Regions from separate parts of the Homo sapiens genome. Here regions 2, 3, 4 and 5 are each linked to region 1. The links are contacts of gene promoters, found by promoter capture Hi-C in blood cells and fetal thymus (Javierre and others, 2016). All regions are on one chromosome and are shown on one strand. The core of a region is centred on a gene start or on the middle of the fragment in contact, and the rest is flanking DNA. Distances in the headings are between cores, read along the strand shown. Region 1 holds the start of LRRC8C (leucine rich repeat containing 8 VRAC subunit C). Region 2 overlaps KYAT3 (kynurenine aminotransferase 3). Region 3 overlaps GBP2 (guanylate binding protein 2). Region 4 overlaps KYAT3 (kynurenine aminotransferase 3). Region 5 holds the start of GBP1 (guanylate binding protein 1).

What was found. The method cuts DNA at HindIII sites, captures the fragments that hold promoters and counts their contacts. A CHiCAGO score of 5 or more calls a contact.
Region 2: a fragment that was not itself captured here is called in contact with the fragment with the promoter of LRRC8C in region 1 in 13 of 17 cell types (naive CD8 T cells, activated CD4 T cells, erythroblasts and 10 more); the score reaches 11.7 in naive CD8 T cells.
Region 3: a fragment that was not itself captured here is called in contact with the fragment with the promoter of LRRC8C in region 1 in 1 of 17 cell types (total CD8 T cells); the score reaches 6.0 in total CD8 T cells.
Region 4: a fragment that was not itself captured here is called in contact with the fragment with the promoter of LRRC8C in region 1 in 1 of 17 cell types (activated CD4 T cells); the score reaches 5.5 in activated CD4 T cells.
Region 5: a fragment that was not itself captured here is called in contact with the fragment with the promoter of LRRC8C in region 1 in 4 of 17 cell types (total CD8 T cells, non-activated CD4 T cells, naive CD8 T cells and 1 more); the score reaches 6.5 in total CD8 T cells.

What each region holds. Positions count from the first base shown.
Region 1 is chr1:89,630,227-89,634,806 of GRCh38, reverse strand. It overlaps LRRC8C (leucine rich repeat containing 8 VRAC subunit C), which reads right to left and starts at 1,687. Exons shown (of 3, transcript NM_032270.5): 1 at 1,485-1,687. LRRC8C-DT (LRRC8C divergent transcript) reads left to right here and starts at 1,913. Exons shown (of 3, transcript NR_033981.1): 1 at 1,913-2,150; 2 at 2,598-2,791. RefSeq lists enhancers at 716-765, 796-845 and a silencer at 1,226-1,885. The HindIII fragment of the contact is 6,667 bases long and covers 1-3,408 here.
Region 2 is chr1:88,985,496-88,990,419 of GRCh38, reverse strand. It overlaps KYAT3 (kynurenine aminotransferase 3), which reads left to right. Exons shown (of 14, transcript NM_001008661.3): 2 at 2,069-2,168. The coding sequence starts at 2,070. It overlaps RBMXL1 (RBMX like 1), which reads left to right. Exons shown (of 3, transcript NM_001162536.3): 2 at 2,069-2,168. Among named protein-coding and RNA genes, the nearest start is that of KYAT3, 4.7 kb to the left of the region's middle. The HindIII fragment of the contact is 3,376 bases long and covers 1,981-4,924 here.
Region 3 is chr1:89,119,283-89,123,747 of GRCh38, reverse strand. It overlaps GBP2 (guanylate binding protein 2), which reads left to right. Exons shown (of 11, transcript NM_004120.5): 2 at 1,765-1,971; 3 at 2,478-2,605; 4 at 3,460-3,569. The coding sequence starts at 1,782. LOC112268267 (a long non-coding RNA gene) reads right to left here. Exons shown (of 2, transcript XR_007066213.1): 2 at 1-4,465. Among named protein-coding and RNA genes, the nearest start is that of GBP2, 4.6 kb to the left of the region's middle. RefSeq lists a silencer at 1,788-2,082. The HindIII fragment of the contact is 809 bases long and covers 2,278-3,086 here.
Region 4 is chr1:88,966,402-88,970,965 of GRCh38, reverse strand. KYAT3 (kynurenine aminotransferase 3) reads left to right here. Exons shown (of 14, transcript NM_001008661.3): 3 at 1,499-1,557; 4 at 2,152-2,296. Among named protein-coding and RNA genes, the nearest start is that of KYAT3, 24 kb to the left of the region's middle. The HindIII fragment of the contact is 6,056 bases long and covers 1-4,564 here.
Region 5 is chr1:89,061,593-89,066,268 of GRCh38, reverse strand. It overlaps GBP1 (guanylate binding protein 1), which reads left to right and starts at 1,061. Exons shown (of 11, transcript NM_002053.3): 1 at 1,061-1,109; 2 at 3,016-3,224. The coding sequence starts at 3,035. The region is part of intron 2 of LOC105378841 (a long non-coding RNA gene); the gene reads right to left. RefSeq lists an enhancer at 765-864. The HindIII fragment of the contact is 1,497 bases long and covers 847-2,343 here.

The DNA of each region.
Region 1 (4,580 bases), core at 438-2,937:
CTTCCCTGTTAAAGCAAGTCACAAGAAATGCAAATATCCTAGACTAGAGCTGTATACATTTAATGTTTGTTTACACACTCAACACATTGTTTATGAATTGAGCGAGTTTTATGCAGCTCAGATTACGTTTTGGGTTTTCAACAAATTATTTAAAAATAAACAGAATTTATAAATGTATAAAAATTATTGGCTCTGGCGATTTTGCAGCATTGTGCTAACCAAGAGGACTACTCCACTTTTACTCCTTTTTCGTCTAAATGGCATCTTAATGACCTGCCCACGCTGAAGCCTCATCGATGCTTTGGGAAACCATCACATACCTGTCGGGAAATGTGACTGTTGGTTAAGGCTACGTTTCTCACACTACCGCGAAAGAAGTATGTGACTTACAAACGGCTGCGATTTCCTTTACCTATTCCTTCCTTCAAAGGCTGCTTTAAATGGAGGTAATTCAAGCCTCCCCGTGCCAAACACCGGCACTCCAACAAAGATGGATTGGTTCTTATTTTTTACTTTGAGGATGGGAACCTGAAAATGTTTCCTAACGTTTGCTGAGGCTTTAACATGTTTAAGGAATTTGAAACCAAGGGAAGTTTAGCCGTAATACTCTGAAATATCCGCATTAGGATGCGGGCTAGGTGTCCGGCTGTTGCAAAACTACGGAGGATGCGAGGTTTGGAAGAAACTGTTTGGACTTTGCTGTATACCGGGCAGGCGTGGGGGTTGGGGAGGGAAGAACCGGCTGAGGGAGAAAAGAAAGGCATTCGTGTCCACAGAACACATCTAAGGCTCCTGAGTTGCTAACTCCATCCCTAATCATCTCATTGGTGGGAACCAGCTGGAAAGGGAAAGATCAGCGAGCCTAGGCGTGGGATGAAGGCAGCGGTTTTGGCCTCAACCGCTGGCCTAAACACCTGGCTTCTGGGGCCCGCCCGATCAAGCTGAACCCCTTCCCTCCTGTCCTGCAGGTGAGCACACGGTGCTCTCACGTTTCTTCGAGAAACCTTCCAATTCCTTTCCCTGCCCAAAAGTGCTAACTTCAAGGGTTCGGAGGTGGCAGGGGGGTGATAGACCGGAAAGGACTGGCCCCGGGGTCTCAGAGATTTTCGAGGTAGGAAAGAACAACGATCGCCCCGGCCACGGACGCATTTCCCCTCGCGGACCGCCCCCCCACCCCCGCGCCCAGTCTGCAGGACCTGCCGCTGCGGCGCGGCGTTGGGCGCCAGGCTGAGATCCTCGCGCGGCCGCTCGGGCTAGCGCGGATTGGGTGGGGTAGGGGTTGGCGGGCTCCTGAGCCGCAGTAGCGGAAGGTTCCCAGCACCACACGCCGGGCGGGCAACCACATTCTGCCTGTCTGAGAGCCGGGGGGAAGCAAGGACGCGAGTGAGGCGGGGCGAGTCCCGGTCCGGCGCGCACAGCGGACCGAGCGGGTGGCCCTCTGCGGGCTGCCCCTCTCCATCCCTCCGCGGATCCCCCGCCCTTACCTCCGGGCGCGAGAGTGTCGACTGGAGAAGGTGCTAGGGAGCGGCGAGCTGCCTGGGGGTCGGGCTCAGCGGCTGCCAGGGACGGCGGCGTCGCCCGCGGGGTCGCTGCTCATGGCTTGTCGCGCCCGAGCACTGCGGCCGCGGCCACGGCGGCGCCTTCCTCCTACTTCTCTTCGCGGGCTTCCAGCCGGGACGCAGCTAACGCCCCAGCCCCGCAAGCCCTCCTCCCCTCCGCCTCCCCGGCCGCGGACGGAGCCGCCTCCAGCGCCGCCCCGCACGCAGCCCGGCTAGCGGCAGCCAGCGCCGCCCAGCGCCCGGCCCCGGGGTCGCCACCGCCCGCCGAGTCGACTCCGCGGTGCCAGCCCCGCTGTGACGCAGGCCGCGCCGCCCGGGAACTTCCTCCCCTGCAGAGACCACCTCGCTCCCGGGACTCGCCAGCGAGGGATGCCGCCGGCCGCCGGGGGCCTTCTCCAGGACCAGGAGAGAAATCCTCTCTCCGCTTCACGACGCGGCCACTCCCACCCCTGAGACGCCCACCTGGCGGACTCTGAGGGAGGATTCGGCTGCGTCTAATACCACCTCCACCCCTCATCCCTCACAATGCGCGGAAAACCACAGGCGGCTGTGCGCGCAGCGTCGGCTCAGCCACCGCAGCTCCTCCCCTGGGTAAGTTAGAGGGGAGCAGCCACCACTAAAAATAGCCCTTCTGGGAACTCCTCCGAAGGCCAGGGTCAGGATGAAGATAACCCCTCCACAGGAGAAGCGAAGGCCTCCTAAGAGAAGGGTGGGGAGGGGACGGTGGGATAGAATGAGGAAGATGGAGAAGGAGAAAAGCAAAACCCAATATCCTTGGATCATGAAGCCCTTGAGCCCCTTGACAACCAAGTCTCCTTTCAGGCCGGAATCCCCAACTGCACCGCCCCTGCAATACGGGCTAAGGGGCAGATTCCAGGGAGACTCAGTTGGAATGCCCCGCCTACAGCTCCCGCATAAAGGAGTTGACGGTGCACAGCAAAACCACCTGTTGTTTAACGAGTATGGAGGGAGGGGTTCTCTCTCATTGATTGATCTGAACCGTGCTTTTCTTCTCCCCATTTTCCCACCCAATTTCAGGATGAAAAAGCACTCTGACGTCTTGAAAGCTGGCAGCTCTCTGTTTGGAAAATCTCTGCCCAGTGAAAAAATGTACCGACAAGATTACTAAGTAACACAGTCTTCTGGGAATGCCTTATCAATGCCAGCTATTTGAAGAGCACCCAAAGTCAAACTAGTGCTCCGCGCTGGCAGTCTGGAAAAGGCAGATGTATGTGAGTAGAGAAACTGATAGACAACTAGTTGCTGGCCAGTTGGCCTGTTTTCGTGCTACAAGCCTTCAGAAAACAGTCGCCTCCTTTTACCACGTTTCTATTTCTAAACCAAAATGAAAAGGACGTTTGTTCAAAAGATATTCTCTTGGGCTTTACATTGCTTTCCCCCTGCTCACTCAGCAAAATCCTACACTTTTTTTCCAATTCCAATGCTGCTGTTGGGTGTCCTTCCCAGAAGACAACCTTAAATTCTCTTAGGCCTTAGGAGCTGAATCTAACACCAGTCTTAATTAACCTACAACAAGACAAAAATTTAGGTCCGGGCTTACCTCCTAGTCAGCAGATGGGAAAAATTCCTAGAGAGTCTCTGGGAAAAAGGCAAAGGCTAACTTTAGCAGTTTGCTAGAAAAAAAAAAATTCAAGTACCTTGTAAGTCACCAGGGTAGATGCAGCAATACTCTCTAAGGTAGCTTTACCTCTTCAATTCTCTTACCTTACCTGAATTTAAACACAGTGAGGCAAGTACCAAGGTCACAACCCTCCTGTGGAGGGCCTTATTCTGCAAGGGCTCTCTGATATACTTCTATCTTTGTACCGTTGGCACCTGACCACAAGCTTAGGCATCCCTGAAATGCTCCCTTGCTACCCAGTGTCAAGGAATCATTGAACCTTAGACTTTGTACTCAGGTGAACCAGGATGAAATCCCTATTCTTCCAGTTTAAACTTAGGAAATTTACTGTTCTTTTTATCTGCCCCCTCCCCACCACCCACATCCCCTTATCATCCCTATAGGTATAGTACTACAGGGTGCTGTGAGAATTAGCTAATATGCTCAAAGCACCAAGAACAGTGCCAATCACTTTGTAAGTAGTCAGTAAATGAGAGCTACTATTGTACTTAACTACTCTTCACTGAAAGCAAAAGAACCAGGAATAGCAAAAAGGTTTGGAAACCTGGGATCTGAATCCCCTGCAAGTTGAGTCCACCCCAAGTTGCTTTATTGCAATACTTTTGGCTACTCTTGTGTCTGCCTTCTAATTGGATCAACTGGGTAGTTCTTCACGTGTAGGCAGGTGATTCACATGCACATTAATGCTTGAAAGCCACTAGTCTAAAAACTATGCTACACTGGTTAGTTCACCTCTTCTTATTTTGTAGCATGTAAACCTTAAATCTAGTGATCTTACCTCAGTCCACCTAATTCACATTAACATCCACACTTAGCAAGCTCTCTGTAAAGGACTGGTAGAATTAGCAATCAGTCAACTTGAGTGAGGGTCTTAAAGAAGTACAAGGCTTATTCTCCGACTTCAGGGTGTTCATAGTTCATGGGAATCATGCATACACACAAACCAGAATAAACCATTTTGAAGCAAATGTGCTTGAAGTTCAGCACATCTCCAGGAAGGAGAGGGTACTGTGAGCTAGATGAACTGGGTGCACAGACTCTGTCTTGACCTTTCACTTTATACCCAATTCTTTAGGCTAAATTTTGACATTCTAATTGGACTTCCAGAGTTAGTAGTTCTCACACTAAAGACTGTGTAATTACAAGTTAACCATGTACAGGTTGGTGATAGAAGCAGAAGTAGATATTTCTGGGCTATGCAGGGCTATGGTAAGGGATTTGGAATGAAATAGGTCTGGGCTTAAATCTTGTATCTCTAGCTATGAACTTCAGTTTCCTCATCAGTCTATTGGAATATAACTACCTTTTAGGGTTGTGGTGAGACTTAGAATATCTGTAACCCCTCTAGTGGGTTGTATGGTAACAGCAATTGTGTCACA
Region 2 (4,924 bases), core at 2,419-4,918, 650 kb after region 1:
CCATTATGGAGTAATGGGTGAAAAGTCAGACTGCACTGGGTTGAGGAGCGTAGATTGAGGAAAAGGAGAGAGCTAGTAAAATGAGCAACAGGGAGATGGTACAGTCAAGAGTTTTATTTTTTGTGTTTTTTGTTTGTTTTTTATGTTTTTTAACCGGGAGAGACAAACAAAGTTGAATATGCAGGAGTAAAGAGGTAATAATCAGTGAAGCAAGGTATCCGTAGAGGGAATGAGATCTAAGTCGTGGAGGAGAGGCGATCCTTTTAAAGGAGGGTAATTTCCTTTATTATACTGGGAAGGAAAAAACAAGGATTTTTTAGATTTGGGAAAGTAGAGAGCGCAATCTGCTTGGACTGAGGAAGAAGGTAGAGGGATTTAGTTTAAAGGAGTGTGGGAAAAATTTAAAGAATCATTTTGGACTATGGGAGACAAGTGTTACCTACAAAATATAGTAGAAATGCTGCAGTGTTGGGGGTCAATTTAAGACTGATGACCACAAATCTGTGGTGAAACCAATATCCCGTGGGACTTTCTCCAGCAGTCCACAGCCAGGAAGTACATTGCATGATGGAGGTAATGTGCTGTAGAAGACAGATAGGAGAGAGGGGTTTGGGATTTAGGCTTTGAGATTTCAAGATGAAAACAAGTAGACTTAGATTTAGGGGCAGCTCCCTAAGAAGGAAGGTGGGCATTGAGGCCTGGTACCTAGAGAGTATGGCTCACCCAGTCTGGGGTGAAATCTCCCAGAAGCTGCACTCCAAGCTTACTTGCTTTTATTATTAGCACATTACCTCCATCATGCAATGTAATTCCTGGCAACTGACCCAGGTCTTCCTTTCTCTTCCATTTTCCAAAGTTTCAGCTGTGTCTTTTGGGACAGCTGCGCCATAATCAGCAAATTCCATTGTATCTTTATGTCGTTAGAGGGTTCCCGCTACTTGCTTGCTTTAACTCAAACCTTATTAATTTATTCACCTATTGTGAAAAATGGAGAAACTGAGGCCCAGCAAGAGTCCATAACTTGACTACAGATAGAAACTTTTTTTAAGATTGAATTCTGCTTTAATCTCTTAATGTGGTGAATCACATTAATAGGTTTCTTATATAAACCCAACCCCCCTTGGTCATGATGTATTATCCTTCTTGTATACTACTGGGTTTGATTTGTTAGCGTTTTATATAGAAGCTCTATTTAGTTTCCATAGATTAGGTCTCTTTTTCTCTAAGGTTTGATAACTGTTAGACGACATGCCATCCACTGATACAGCAGCCTTATACAGTAGACTTAAGAGAACAACATTCTCAGAGTAAAACCTTATGAGAAATATCTATTTGCCTGAATGTTTTTAGAAAGCTGGGTTTTCTTTCCACTTCTAAGTGGCAGTATTGTAATAGTTTCATTGCCTTGATCTTCCTCCATTTACCCATGACGGATATCAATTTTATACTTACAGGTAGAGAAGCAATTCAGAATGCATGCCTATCATGCCACTGGAATCCACTAAAATGGCTTGTGGGAATTGTTGGAGGAAGTACCTTCAGAATAACCTAAGATTCACTCATATATTCTTTATATTTATCAAGGACCTACTATCATTCGTCTTTTCAAACAACTTTTTAAATAACTGTTTCTAACAACTTTAATTTACTGTTACAAACTATGCTTTTACTAGTGACTGTTATCCAGAGGATTCTGAAATTTGAGTAGTTCCTAGATTGAAATACTCTGGATTTTATAGCTGCTAGAAATGGAACTTTCACTTTCTGAAATTTAATGCTCTTGACTAAATTAAAGCCTTATTTTTTTAATTAAGAATATTCTTAAAGCTCTCTAGTTTAAAATGATGTGAATATAAATTTGTGTAGGAAGAATACATTTATTAGAATGCCTCCAGTGATGAGAGATTATATCATAGAAAGAAAACTTGAAAGAAAGCAAACTCACTTATCAAAAATGTTTACTTGGATTTTACGTAAGCTTATGATACATCAGCTAGCTGTAAGTGTCTGATAGTGATGTACCCATCATATATTTATTCCTCTTCTCAATTTTTCTTTTATTTAATAGCATGTTTTTGGCCCAGAGGAGCCTCTGCTCTCTTAGCGGTAGAGCAAAATTCCTGAAGACAATTTCTTCTTCCAAAATCCTCGGATTCTCTACTTCTGCTGTAGGTATTGCTTACTTACAGATAAATTATTGTACATATTCTGCACTGTCCAAAAAATATGTAATTTTTCAGATGCTTTTTTACAAATACTTTATTGAAATGAACATTTCTATTACATATGCTGAAGGTGTCTCTTGTCATTGACTAGAATTGACATTCACTGAGCAACTGCTTGCCTGTCTGTGGATCAGGCCATGTGCTGGTCATTATATATTCATTACCTCATTTTGTCTTCACAAAACCCTTCAAGTTATGAATATAGGTCCAGTGGCATGGGAAAAAAGTAGAAGAGGATATTTCAGGAGGACTGCTCAGGGATCGAAAAAGGTTTAAAACCCATAACCACCAAATACAATACGTACATCTGCTTTAGGAACTTGATTCAGTCAACCAAAATGCAGAAAGACATTTTTTAAAGACAATCAGAGAGATACGAATGTGGACTGGGTATTAGATGTTAACAAGAAATTATTGTTGGTGAGGTGTGGTAATGAAATTGCAGTTATATAAGTAGCAATATTTTTTAGATAATATGCCAAGTATGTAGGGATGTAATGACCTAAGGTCTAAGATTTATTCTAAAGTTACTCAGCAATTACAGAAAAAAAGAGGCAAAATCTTGAGAATTACTGAATCTGGGTAGTGTGCATATGAGTGTTTTATATTAGGTTAAAGTATATGAAATTGCTATTTTTGTATGAAAATTCCATTTTTGGCATATGAAGTACCATTTTTGTCATAACTGGTTGAATATTGACAATTTTGTATTCAACCTAATTCTAATCTCTCAACTGGTTTAAAATTTTCTCAGTGGTTTAAAATTTTCATAAAAACCATCATCAGTGTCTTCTATATGTAAATCTTATGAATTCTACCTCATAACTGTCTTGAATTCTCTCCTCTTTATGCCACCGTGACCACCTTTTTCAGGCCCTCTCCCAACATAGAAGTCGGTTGAAGCCAGGGAAGTGGTTGTGCTTCCCCAAGGTGAACATATGAAACCATGGCACTAAAAGGGCATTTGTGTGCACAATCCTCATTTGTGGAACTTTTATTAGACTACGTATGCCAGGGCTCACCATTATGCATTCTAATTCTACATATCTGGAATGTATTTTGAAAAATCTTTCCAGCTGATTCTGATGTATGTCCCAGGCAAAAACCACTGACAATGCATTATTCAAACTTGTGGACTATTTGGGATAGCACTAACCCCTCTCCATACCTAGCAGTGGAATGGTTGGGTTGTGTGGTAGCTTTATGTTTAATTAAGTAACTGCCAAAGTGTTTGTATCATTTTAACTACATTGGAAAAGTGTCTACAGTTCATCAGAGGCTTTGCATTTAAAATAGTCGCACAGGGATAAAGATAAATATTCTTCCTATTGCTGGACGAATGAAAAACACTGGCCAGTGTTACAAAAGCAATAGTGATAAGTTTAAATCAAGAAAGACTTGTCAGAACCAGCCAGATAAGTTACTGTGAACTTACTTAGAATATTCGTTTCATCCACATCATCCTTAATGTCATGAAAATCTGCCGGGAAGGGAATAGAATGAAGGATAGGCTGTATTTTCCTGTATTACTTGCTTTTTTACAAAAACATTTTACATATTCTCTAATTTTAAAGAATGTTTTGAATGCTAAAGGAAAAATGTAGGCGGGGCGCAGTGGCTAACACCTGCAATCCCAGCACTTTGGGAGGCTGAGGCCAGTGGATCGCTTGAGACCAGGAGTTCAAGACCAGCCTGGGCAACATGGCAAAACCTCATCTCTATTAAACATACAAAACATTAGCTGGGCACACACCTGTAGTCCAGGATGGTCTCAATCTCCTGACCTTGTGATCCACCTGCCTCGGCCTCCCAAAGTGCTGGGATTACAGGCGTGAGCCACCGCGCCTGGCCCTAAAATAGTCTATTAATTTTTTTTTTTTTAAGAGAGTCTAAAATTTAAATGTCCACCAGAGAAGCGCAAAAGCAACACTGGACAAAACCTTTTCCTTAGGTCTGTCCTTCCTTAAGGAAATCAACTCTCTCTGTCTCTCTCTCTCTCTCTTTTTTTTTTTTCATACAGTCTCTCACTCTTGCCGCCCAGGCTGGAGTGCAATGGCGCAATCTCGGCTCACTGCAGCCTCCGCCTCTCGGGTTCAAGCAATTCTCCTGCCTCAGCCTCCTGAGTAGCTGGGACTATAGGTGCCCGCCACCACTCCCGGCCAATATTTGTATTTTTTGTAGAGACGGGGTTTTGCCATGTTGGCCAGGCTGGTCTCAAACTACTGGGCTCAAGTGATCCACCCTCCTCAGCCTCCCAAAGTGCTGAGATTACAGGCATGAGTCACTGCGTCCAGCCCAACCCTCTCTTTTGATGTGAAAGTATCACCTTTTGTACATTTAGTCCATACCCAATATCTCTTTGCCTCCTTTAGTGCAAAGTTACTCATCCTTACTTGTATCTAAGAGAATCTTTCCTACTTTCTGAGTGGGCACTAGTTTTGGAGTATATATATTGTATGCCATGAACTATATTTTTCTGCTTATGGCTTTGCCTCATTTAATTGCCATAGCACTTACATGGGGCAGGTATTCATTTTCCTGCTTAGCAAATAAGGAAACTGAATTTCAGAGATGTCAGGTAACCTGCCTACTTCACACACTAGGAGTTTTGATGTTTAATTTTGAACTAAGATCTATCTGGCTTGAAAGCTCTTTGCATTAAACAACCTTGAACAATATACTTGGAACGTAGGTGTGTT
Region 3 (4,465 bases), core at 1,433-3,932, 510 kb after region 1:
TACTTAAAATCAACCAACAAATGAACCTAACTATATTACAAATAAATAATTTAACTACACCAAAGAGAATGGAGAAGGAAATAGTAGTCTAAGCAACTTTGGAATACAGTGTTTTGACTGTATGTGTAAGACCAAAGACAAGAACTTTTAACTAATAGTGCACTCTAGTTAGCAAATTTATCTTTCAAACACTTATGAGTTAGTAACTTTAAAACAAATTATATGTACTAGAATTGAGCAAATAACTAAATTTATTATGTATAATGACACACTCAGAGAAAAGATTTTAAAAACAAGGGGAAAACATGAATAAGTTTTGTTTTGTTGAATTGGAATTAGAAATATCAGAAGAAACTTAAGCTTATATATAGAAACAGATAGACGAGAAATAAATGTAGATGTGTGTATTCATGTGCTGGTATATAAACATAGATTTCTTAACTTTCCACCTGAGAGGGCCTAGAAGTAATGACTACACCTAGTGTGATAATCTTGTTGTCTATCTACCATTATCCAATGAAAGCAACCAGAGCCCTTGGGAGAAATGGTCGATTCTAAGGCTGAAGCAGAAAAAATATTAGATAAGCCTGGCATATATTGTAATGTCAGAAGGAAAGACGCACTGAAAATATGATGGAAGCACGTCCATAGTACCTGGGCTACAGCTTGAAGGAGCTCTCAGTGAACTAATCTGGGACGAGTTGAGCAATGAGATAAATAGTGATAGTAAAGTGTTACCCATATGATAAATCTACACTGATCTACTATAGATCTACACTGATACAACTAAATGATTAAATAAGTAAATAAAATAAATAGAGGAGAAAGGGCAGTTCTTGCTCACATTAGAACTCTAATAAATGTAGAAGGAATGAAAATAGAAAATTACTTTTAGTCAAACATCACAGTAAGTTATAAGCAAGAATTATCAACAGATGCTAAAAATAGTGACTGAAAAAATTATGGAAGTATGATGAATCTTTATTTGCATAGTCTTCAAACTGTCTCTTCAAATGGTACTTTTTAGTGACAAAATGGTACATAACACTTTGTGGTAGAGAAACCTGGCAGAGAACACCTTAACCAAGTGATCAAAGTTAAGGTCACAGCACCAGAAAAAGTCATGTCAACATCATGAATCCCTTAATACAAGACACTGAAAATGGCAGAACATCACTTTGGTGACATTTGCAAAAAAAAATGTATAACTTCAATCTAATAATAAGGAAACATCAAAAAACCCAAATTGAGGGATATTCTACAAAATCATAGCCAGTCAACTTCTAAAATGTCAAAGACATGAAAGACAAGGAAAGAATAAGGAACTATCAAAGATGCAAGGAAAATACAGAAACATAATGACTAAATGCAATGAGGAATCCTGGATTGGGTCATGGAGCAGAAGGACATTAGTGGGAAACTGGTGAAATGTGAATAAGGAGTGTAAATTAGTTATCACTCTACCAATGTTAAAATCCTTGTTCTATGGTTATGGAAAATTTTAACTTTAGGGGAAATGATATATGGGAACTTTCCATACCCATTGTACATCTTTTCTGTAAGTGTATTTCAAAATAAAGTTATTTTTAAAGAAAGCCAGTGACCCAATTTGTAAGACAGCCTTAAAGAGAAACCAGGCTTTAAAAAACGTATATGAAAAAATGTTCAAGCATAGAAAACAAAAATTTAACCCATATTGTAAAGTTCAGCATAGCTAACTACCTAAAAACTGCTTTCCATTTCATCTTTTTCCTTGCACACAAGGGAACAACACCCTGGACATGGCTCCAGAGATCAACTTGCCGGGCCCAATGAGCCTCATTGATAACACTAAAGGGCAGCTGGTGGTGAATCCAGAAGCTCTGAAGATCCTATCTGCAATTACGCAGCCTGTGGTGGTGGTGGCGATTGTGGGCCTCTATCGCACAGGCAAATCCTACCTGATGAACAAGCTGGCTGGGAAGAAAAACGGTGAGTGACACCAGCAAAGCTCTAAGCCCCTTCTGTCCGTACACACGGCGAACATCCAGCTTAGGGATGTGAGCATAGAAAGAGATGAGAATGAATGTTGAAAGCTAACTTTCAGTCCATTAATGGGCTCTTTACATTGACTTTGGAGGATTACAGTCAACTGACTCTTCCCACTTTACTTTTATTTTATACTAAGGGTATAAATGTGCCTTTCTGGAAGGAACACAATGTTAATAAAGAAAATTAACTTCTATAATAATGACTTATAAAACATTTATTAAAATGTTCATGTAGTGACAGCAAGCTTTCAATGAACTTTAAGAAAAATATGAATGTTTCAGTGTGTATTAAATATCTAATTTTCCTGTTTCCAGGATTGTAATTAAGATTTATGCCAGTTGTATTTTCTTTTATCTCTTTTAACTTCAATTATGTTAACTTTTATCTCAATTTCCAGAAACACCTACTAAGTAATTTCTTTTCCCTTTTATCCTCTCCTTCTACAGGCTTCTCTCTAGGCTCCACAGTGAAGTCTCACACCAAGGGAATCTGGATGTGGTGTGTGCCTCATCCCAAGAAGCCAGAACACACCCTAGTTCTGCTCGACACTGAGGGCCTGGGAGATATAGAGAAGGTAAAAAAAATAAGTATTTTAAAAATTTCACTTAGGTAGATTAAAATCTACATAAACCAGGTCAGATCGATAACCATCTTTGCACAATCACTCCTACTCCTTGATTTAGGGCTCTAGTTAATTATATTAATATATTATTTCTTAAAATTTGTGTGGTATAAGCATTCAGAGTACACAATAAGTTCAATTGATTAATTATGGGTAAACCTATGAAATAATGGCTAATGATGTTTTCAGTTATTTCTCTTTCATATTATAGTAAAATGTTTTGGTGAGGCTGCTGAAGGTGCTTATAAACTTCAGTAGACGTTTTACAAACATGTCTGACTTTTTACAGTGGGATCCCACAAAGGTAGTAAAAATGTTCACATCCACACCAGCACCAGTAGAAAGAGAAGCAAAGTGTAAAATCTAATGATAACATCTTTGCTCATTAAGGATAATATATTACTACTGTTATAAATCTTAGACATAGAAAGCTTTTATTAAAGGAGCTTATTTTAACTACTGTGTAAAAAATATCTTACTATGATGTGCCATGGAAATGGAATAGGGTCATAAACTAAGTTTAGGGTACCAGTTTGAATTTTAGTAGCTGATCAAAATAGCTTCTCCTACCAAGTGCTCATGTGTTTCCTGCTGACATATATTTATATATAACACCTTAAATTATACATCATAAATATTATAAATTTGTTCTACAGGTAGAAAAAAATACTGCATAAGGAAGTGAGTTACCTAAGTTTTCAGAACTAATGAGAGACAGAGTTGGAGTTCAGTCAGTCTTCAGCTATCTGAATTGATTGTACATTCTGCTAGTCATTCTTCTTTGTGGCTTCTACAATGACTTACAGGGTGACAATGAGAATGACTCCTGGATCTTTGCCTTGGCCATCCTCCTGAGCAGCACCTTCGTGTACAATAGCATGGGAACCATCAACCAGCAGGCCATGGACCAACTTCAGTATCCTTTTTTGTGGTCCAGAACAGCAGTAAACCTAGAAAATAACAGCTTCATTTTTTCACCAAGTACAGAGGCAGACAGACAGGTACTGAAGAATTCATAAGTCCTCTCTTTAATAAATCTCATTATGCTGAACATCTCATTCTATCTCAATCTCCATCTGAACTTCAAGTCTTCCCAGTTACATGTCTCGTTAGATACTCAGCCACCCAAGACTCTGTATATCCTCTATCTGACTTAATCTCCTATGCCTGTCCAAACCTTCAATGTCCTCTAGAACTCATGTTCTCACTTCTGCAACTCTCTATATTCTTATCATCTGCTCTAAGTGTTGCCTTCTAAATGATACCTAGCTATACACTATAGATACTATTTCTCCTACAGACCTCTCCAGTGGTCTTATGTGATGACTATTTTTAATCCCATACCTTGCATATCATAAGTGTAAGAGATGAGTTAGGTATCCTCCTTGCTCCATATTAGAGTTCTGGACACTTTCTCATTCCTTTACCATTAAAAAGAGAATCTTCTTTAATATATATGCCCTCAGACTACACCACTATTTTTGTTGCAATTATCTAGCAACGTTCCAATAAATACATCCTTCATTCATTAAAGATTTTAGTTCCTAGTGTCTTTTTAGAGACTAGCAACCAATAGACAATTATTTAACACCCTGGTGTCTCAGTTCCATCACCTTATTGGAACTCTCCACCCTTATTGTCATTCTCCACTCTCACACATTACTTAACCTAGTTCATTATCAATGACCTCACCATTTCCATTAGCTTAGTTTCAAGCATTATACTGAATTAGATTTCATCAAGATCACCCCCATATTCCTATATGTAATGCACAGTTCTCACCTCATTTGATCTTCCAATCTTCCATAAGCC
Region 4 (4,564 bases), core at 1,757-4,256, 670 kb after region 1:
ATGTGATTTACTTCACTGGAGTTTCAAAGACAAAATATGACACTAAAAAAGGTATTTTTCTTGGTCCCATTATTTAGAATAGAATGAGAACAATGGTCTATTTAATAACCATTATCGTTATCTTCCCAGATTGAATTAAAATTACATTAATATTCCATTAGAAAATTCTCTGCAAAAATGCTGTCAATCATTTTTTTATTTCTACCAGCTTGTTAACAATGAACTCAAAGCTAATTCAATACTTTTGGGAGATAGTATAAAACTCAATTTTAGAATCTAAAGAACTAAAAAATTGTATGCTATGTGATAATTTTAATTCCTATTTTTCTACTACAGCCTTAGCTTGCTTGGTATTAGTAGGCTTATCCTAAATTTATAATATACTTTTAAGAGGCAGCATTCTAGTAATATTTTTAGAAGGTCTTATTATATAAAACACAGTATAAAATTATATAATAGTTCTGAGTATGGATTCTGGAGTCAGACTGTCTGGGTTCAGATCCTGAGTTGAACCTGTTTGGGTTTAAATGTTACTAGCTTTCATAAACTTGAGCAGATGTGAAAAGTTGTGTGATCTTAACCTCTCCGTACCTCTGTACCTCATAGTTCTAACTATGTAATAGAACTACTACATATTTTTGTAAACATACAGTAATAATGAGTTCATTATGTAAAGCACTTAGAACAGTACCTAGGACATACTCAGTACTCAATAATGTTAGCAATAATTATGGAACCCCTTACTGAGTAGCTTTAAAACCATTTGTTGAGTCTTTCCTGTATGTCATACAAGGAACTTACTTGTGAAACTCTTAGTACATCTTACCTAAAATGATGTTCAGAGCATGGCTTAAGATATTTTTTGAAACTAACTTTTTAAATATTATTATTGTTCTCTTTACTACATTACAAGCCTTAAAACAGATTAGCTTTCTAGGGTAGGATGATACTTTTTGTCCTTAGGTGAGAAGATGAACATCTAAATTTCATTTGAAAAAGCATTCCTTCCAGCCAAGCATGGTAGCTCACACCTGTAATCCCAAACTTTGAGAGGCCAAGGTAGGAGGATCCCTTGAGGCCAGGAGTTTGAGACCAACCTGGGCAACACCACAAGACCCTGTCTCTATAAAATATACAAACAAACAACAACAAAAAAAATAGTTTGGCACAGTAGGATATGCCTATAGTCCCACCTGCTCAGGAGACTGAGGCAGGAGGATCACTTGAGCCTGGATAGTTGAAGCTGCAGTGAGCCATGATCACACCACTGCATTCCAGCCTGGGCAACCACGTCTGAGAAAAAAAAAAAAGGCATTCCTTCAGTAGTAGGTGGGAGATGAATTCCTCTTCAGAATTTTGTGTTGGAGTCTAAGATTTATCTTTATGGAACTACTATTTACATGGTAACAGTAGGGAAAAGGAAGAAGAGTGACCCATGATTTACTGGCTTTTAAAATTTTGACTAAGGCAATTCCTTTTCAATATTTATATATTTCAGAAAATGTCACTGAAATTCACAAATGCAAAACGGATTGAAGGACTTGATAGTAATGTGTGGTGAGTATCTTAAAATAAATAATAATTTAGTGAGGGTTTCCTACATATTTTCGTATCTTTAGATGGGAGTTTTTTTTGCCTCATCCATGGTCTATAAATAAAGGTCCTCATTTAATTCATCCATTAAATGAAAATGGAAGGAAGTTAGCAATCCATATACTGAATTGTTCATTTGGCACATGTGCCATGCCCTTTGCTGGACACTGGACATATGGCAGAGAAAAGGACAAATGTTAATGCCCTCATGGAACTTAACCTCCAATCCAGGAACTTTTCTTATTAGTTCTGTTCTCTAATAGTTGATGAAAGAACTTAGCAGCAGCTGGAATTGTTGAGAAAATATATATATGTGGTTAAAATATGGGTAGCGTGAAACTGAGGTTTGTAAGGGACATTGGGTTCATAAATTCAGCCATCATTCTATTTGGTAAACTGATTTGTGGTTGGTAAATTTTTGTTGGAAACTCATTTTTTAAAACCTATAGGACTAAACTAGGGTCTTATTTGTCTGTTTTGTGGTAAGACTATAAGATATAAAAAAGCGAACTTTATAATTGTAGAACTTATTAATATTAGTATTTTTTTCAATCTTAGGATTGAATTTACCAAATTGGCTGCAGACCCTTCTGTTGTGAATCTTGGCCAAGGCTTTCCAGATATATCCCCTCCTACATATGTAAAAGAAGAATTATCAAAGATTGCAGCAATCGATAGCCTGAATCAGTATACACGAGGCTTTGTAAGTATATCAAGACCATATGGGCCATGAGCTTTTATTTTATACTGGGGTGTGTGTCTGTGTGTGTGCATGTGCCCTTCTGTCATTCATATATAAGTGACTTTCTGGGACCAGCTGTCCCATCCTAGCAACCACAGAAACTTCTGCCCTTGCCCTATGTCCTGAGATGAGCCTTCGCCTACTTCCAGCCCCTCTACACTTTTCTTTCTTTTGGCCCTTACTTTACTGTTGCTCCAAGATAGGATCCTATGGCAACACGATAAGGAACAACATTCTCTTGAGACATGTCTTTTCTATCTCATCAACATTTATGCAGCCTGAGCACTGACCCTTTATTTAATATATCCAACTAGCTACGTTTTTCCTCCTTGTGCCAGCTCACTCCCATCCTTCTGTAATGAAATGCCTAGGATAGCCAAAGATTTTCTAGATCAGACGTACCTTTGAACTGTAGACTTGTATCTGTTGTGCCAAAAGCCATACAATTATCATATGTCTGACCACTTGTCTTTTCCTTTTATGATATTGTGGGAAATGGGGAGGGGAATGGTATAGGAGGAAGCCTGTTTTTTGTCTTCTATAGTGGTCTAACTATAAAAATCCATAGAAGGGTTTTGCTTTGGGAATAGCACAGGGAAAAGCAGTGAAACTTACCTGTGTCACAGGGTTTGACACTGGTGAGAATCCCTGCTCTTCATAGATCTCACTCCCTGGCCCACCCTACAGACCCCCATCTCAGACCTACTCAACATAACTCACTCCCCAGCCTATACAAATCCATAATGAAAGGCTAGAAACAAACCAACAATAGAGAAAATTAATGAAACCAAAAGCTGGTTCTTTGAAAAGATCAATAAGTAAAAGTTTTAGCTAGATTGACCAATAAAAAAGAAAAAACTCAAAGTACCATATGAAGAATGAAAGAAGGAATATCATTACTGATCATACAAACATGAAAGCAATAATAGGATAATATTATGGATAATTTTATGTCAGTACATTGACAACTTGGATGAAATGAACAGATTATTTAAAAGATACAAATTACCAAAACTGACACAAGGAGAGATGAAAAATGCAACTAGCCCTATGTCAATGAAAGAAAATGAATTTGTAATTAAAGTCTTCCTGCAAACAAACCTCAATACCTAGATGGCTTATTAGTGAATTCTATCAAGTATTTAAGGAAGAACTATTAGGTCAGTGCAAAAGTAATTGCGGTTTTGCCATTAATTTTAATGACAAAAACCGCAATTACTTTTGCACAAACCTAATAATACCAGTTCTGCACACATTTATTCAGAAAGTGGAGCAGGATGAAAAACTTTTACTTATTGATCAACAATTTTTGTAATTTGAAAAATAAAGAAATGCCTAATGGTTTTGTCTGAACTTTTAATCAGGGGTTTTGTATCAGGGTAATGCTGGTCTCATAAAATTAGTTTCAGCATTACCCTGATACAAAAACTGATTTAAAAAATGCCAGCGAAAGAAATAAAGAAAACTCCAGTTCAATATCTCTCATGAACATAGAAACAAAGATTATGAAATTTTAGCAAATCAAATCCAGATATGTGTGTGTGCATGTGTGTGTGCCTGTGTGTATAAAGATATAAAAAGTAATACATCCTGACCAAGTAAGGTTTACCATAGGAATGCAGGATTAGTTTTAATATCCAAAAATTAATCATTGCAATTATGCTATATTATCAGAAAAAAAAGATCATCTTATGTAGTATATATAGAAAATGCATCTGACAAAATTCAACCCTCATTTATAATAAAAGTTTTCAGCCAATTAGAAATAGAATGGAGCTTTCTCACTCTGATAAAAGGAATCTATGAGAAACCTACAGATTACACCTGTAGTGCACATAATATAGTAAGATTGAAAAGACAGCAAAGATGTCCACTCTGACCATTGTTATTCATCAGTGTACTGGAGTCCTGTGAGATATAAAGATACATAGATTAGAAAGAAGAAAAATGTAAACTCATTTTCAGAAAACATGATTGTGTACATAGAATATCCTAAGGAATTCTAAAAGAAAAAAAAGCCTACTACAACTAATAAATGAATTGAGCAAGGTCACAGGACACAAAGCCAATATACAAAAATCAGTTGTATTTCTATATATTAAAATGAACAATTAGAAAGTAAAATTTTTTAAATACTATTTATAGTAGTATCCCAAAACACAAAACATTTAAGAATAAATTTTTTAAAATATATCCAAGATCTGTACGATGAAATCTATAAAACATTAC
Region 5 (4,676 bases), core at 346-2,845, 570 kb after region 1:
GTGGCTCATGCCTATAATCCCAGCAATTTGGGAGGCCGAGGCAGGGGGATCATTTGAAGGAAGGAGTTCAAGACCAACCTAAGCAACAAAGTGAAACCACATCACTATAAATATATTTTTAAATGAAATGTTCACTCAGGCTTTTTACTATTTTATTTGCTTTTGCTGTAAAATAGAGATAATGCCACTTATTCTGTATGCTAGAAGTCATTACTGAATTAGACATAAAACACAAACAGCTCTTAGAAAACAATCTATAAAAATAAAATCACACTATAATAAATTTAAAAATAAAAAACCTATAAATAAAATATTTCTACAATTTTTCACTTAGTAAATAAGCAGCATAGTGAAGTGGTTCAAGAAGAGGGTATGGGATCATGAGTGCTTGGGTTCAGATTAGTTACAGTGTTATGATTTTAGACAACTAATAAAGTCTTTCTGTGCTCAGTTTCTATAAAACCATGAGGAAATATTATGAGTTTTCAGTTGTGCGATTCATGTAAAGCCATCAGTACTGAGCCTAGAACATGAGTACAACACATGGAGCCCCCTCCTGGCTGTGTGCTGGGCATTAAGTGCCAGGGGTTAGGTGTTCATGAGTGTGTTAAACATGTCCTTTCCTTATGTACTGCACCTCTCAAAGAATAGGCAGCTCCATTGAGAGTGTGTCTATTATTTTAGGAAATTGTAGCTGAAAATTAACATGATGCCTCCTCATTCTAGGTTTCTCAAATTGACTCAATCCATGAGACATGTATCATTGTATTCAAAACCTAATGGGCATTTTGTTAGACAACAAATGGTCTCTAAGATTTCCAACAACAACAAAAAAAATTTGAAGCTTCTGGTTGAGAAATCTTTAAACCCTCCCACTGGCACACTCCACTAATTCCATTTATGGTAGTGGAGTCAGTGATTTGAACGAAGTACTTTCAGTTTCATATTACTCTAAATCCATTACAAATCTGCTTAGCTTCTAAATATTTCATCAATGAGGAAATCCCAGCCCTACAACTTCGGAACAGTGAAATATTAGTCCAGGGATCCAGTGAGAGACACAGAAGTGCTAGAAGCCAGTGCTCGTGAACTAAGGAGAAAAAGAACAGGTAAGAACTTTTACTACTTCTCATCAAGCAGCTTTCTCTCTAGCTCCAAAGGATCTCAGCTCAGTGATATGGAACCTATAAGGTTGTGGCAGGGATGGGAAGGAATTTATAAAGGTCAGTTCATTTTCTTAAACATCATCAGAACCAAATTAGGCTGCAGATGAGCCTGAAGTGGGACGCAGGTCAGATGAAATCCTGGTGTTATCAGGGACAGCATGGCCTTAAGTGCCACTACAGTGCTTGTGTTGAATTAGGCACCAGTAGACAGGGGCTAAACTGAGCATTTGAAATGTACTAGGATAGTCTTTCTCTTTGTTGACATTATCTATGTTGACTAGGGATATGATTACATTTCCATCGTCAGTGATGGACTGAATCCTGCTTCTATGCAGCTAAGAAATGGAAGAGTTACAAACGGGTTCTTTTCATGGAAGGAAAGAACAGCAAATGAGAAGCAGAGTAAGCAGCCCACTGACACGGTTAAAGACAAAGAAAAAACTGAAACTCAGCCTGAAAGATGAAGATTCATGAAAACAGTATACTTTTTATTACACTTGTGAACTTTGTTTCAGAATGGATTACTTTCTTTAGAAATAGTCCAGACTCACTAATTTCCTAGTGCCCACTGATCCCTGTCCCTTAGAAGTGAAATTCAACCCCACTGCTTCACTGAAGTGCTTCCAATTTTGTCTTCTTTTAGTAGAGAGCAGGGCCAAAAGTGTTTCCTCTTTAATTCTCCTGTAATGCATCTCTACAGAAAATATCTTTGCTTACTTTAACCTCTCCATGCACTCAGACTACTTTGATCCTGCCTTCTGCAAAGTCTTCCCCTGAATGCCTTGTCAAGACACTAGCCTCATTCATCACCTCTGGTCTGACAGCTCCTCTCTCTCTCTCTCTCTCTCTCTCTCTCTCTCTCACACACACACACACACACACACACACACACACACACACACATTCCCAGCCCCTTATCCTCCTCTCCACTCCTACTATTCCTCCTCTTTCTATTTCTCTTTCTCCTACCCTACCAAATGGAAAACAGAACAAAACAGAAATCCTAAAGCTGTATCGCTGGAAATATATTTTATTTGAACAACTTCCTAGGTAGCTCTCTTTATCTGCCTCTTGATCTTTTAATCCTTATTATCTGGAGGAAACATTCAGTATTTGCAATTTTGCATTCATACCCTCAGTGACTTAGAAGCTATCTTATCGTGACTCTAATGAAGCTTAAGTTTCAGGGCCCTTCTCTTGGACATGACCCTTAGGAGCCCTTGGAAGGTTCCCTAGCCATGTGTTTCACATGGTTGTATAGTTTTATAAAATTTGCAAAAGTATGTTACATTGTTACCACTTCCAGAATGGCAATGTGAGAAGCTTTGTCAATCCTCATTGCAGTGAAATAAGCATAATCATTTGAAGATGGAGGAAGGAACACATTTAAAAATCTTTGGAAATTTTTCTAAGGGTAAACATCAAACTATGAATACTGATTCACTGTGTTGGATGTTTATTCACTGTGAGAATTAATAAGTGAATCAATATTGAATTCCTTACATACAGCCAGGATGCAAATAAATCCTCTAAATCCTATTCTATCTTCCATTAATTGACTAGTGAAAATATCTAATAAGAATCCAAAAAGAAAGTTTTCCACAATAAACTAAATGAAATATTTGGGTCGTGAGAGTAGTTGAGTGTTGATAAGTCACTGTCATGCTAACATTTTTCATAATGAGCTACTTTGACAATACTTCCATAACTTTCTCAAATGATACAGATTTTGCCTCATCTCTTTTGCTGTCACACACAAAACTTTTGGCCATACTGGGGAATCTTATGATTCTCCCTTATAATTGCAAAACACTAGAAATTCTCATGTATTTCACCTCTTCTCTTGCAGACAAGGGAACAGCCTGGACATGGCATCAGAGATCCACATGACAGGCCCAATGTGCCTCATTGAGAACACTAATGGGCGACTGATGGCGAATCCAGAAGCTCTGAAGATCCTTTCTGCCATTACACAGCCTATGGTGGTGGTGGCAATTGTGGGCCTCTACCGCACAGGCAAATCCTACCTGATGAACAAGCTGGCTGGAAAGAAAAAGGGTGAGTGGCATGAGCAAAGCTCTGCCAAGTCCCTTCTGTCCATCTACACAGTCAGCCTCCATTATGAAGATGTGAGGAGAGAAAGAGATGAGGATGAATACTGAAAGCTAACTTTCCATTCACAGTCGGGCTCCTTATCTTCACGCTGTTCTAGGGGATAAGAATCAATTCATTAATTATTCCCATGATACCTTAGTTTCCATTTCAAAAGCACAAATTATGCCTCTCCTAAAAGGAGTAAGACAGTAATAAAAATAATTAATGTACATAATAATAACTATAATAAACTATACAATGTTTATTACAATTTTTATGCAATAACAGAGTTCACAGTGATCTTTAAGGTTGAAAAAATGTTTCAATCTGTAGTGGATATTATTTTTTGTTGTTGTAAAAAAAATAAAATTTAACCTCGTAACCATTTTTAAGTGTACAGCTCTGTAGCATTAATGAAATTCACATTGTTATACAGCTGTCACCTCCATCCATATCCAGAAATCTTTCATCTTGCCTAACAGAAACTGTATTAACTAAACAAAAGCTCCACATAAACCCATTGCCTGCCATCATTCTACATTCTATCTCTATGAATTTGACTACTACAGAAACCTTATATAAGTGGAATCATTCAATATTTGTCCTTTTATGACTGGCTTATTTCAATTCATATGTCTTCAAGGTTCATCAGTGTGTTAGCATGTGTCAAAACTCTTCCTTTTTAAGGCTTAGTAATTGTACGTGTATACTAATTTGTTTATCTCTTCATCTGTCAATGGACACTTGGATTTCTTCCACCTTTTGTCTATTATAAATAATGCTAATAGGAACATGGGTGTCTGAATATCTGTTCAAGTCCCTGCTTTCACTTCTTTTGGGAATATACCCAGAAGGGGAATTGCTGGCTCATGCAGTCATTGCATGTTAACTTTTTTTAAGAAATCACTATACCATTTTCCACAGTGACTGTACCGTTTTACATTCTCAACAGAAATGCACAAGGGTTCTAATTTCTCTACATCCTCACCAACATTTTTTATTTTCAGTGGTTTTTTTTTTTTATAGTGGCCATACGAATGGAAGTTAAGTAGTATCTCGTTGTGGTTTTGATTTTGATTTCCGTAATGACTAGTGATGTTGAGCATCTTTTCACGTGCTTATTGGCCACTTGTATATCTTCTTTGGGAGAATGTCTATTCAAGTCCATTGTTCATTTATTAATCTGGTTGTTTATTTCTGTTGCTTTGTAAATTTTTTTATATTTTCTAGATATCAATCCCTTATCATATACATGTTTAGAAACCATTTTCTTACATTCCGTGTGTTGCCTTTTTTAACTCTGTTGATAGTGTCCGTTAATACACAAAAGTTTTAAATTTTGCTGAAGTCCCACTAATCTATTTTTTCTTTTATTGTCTATAGTTTTGGTTTCTTATTCAAAAAATAATTTCCAAA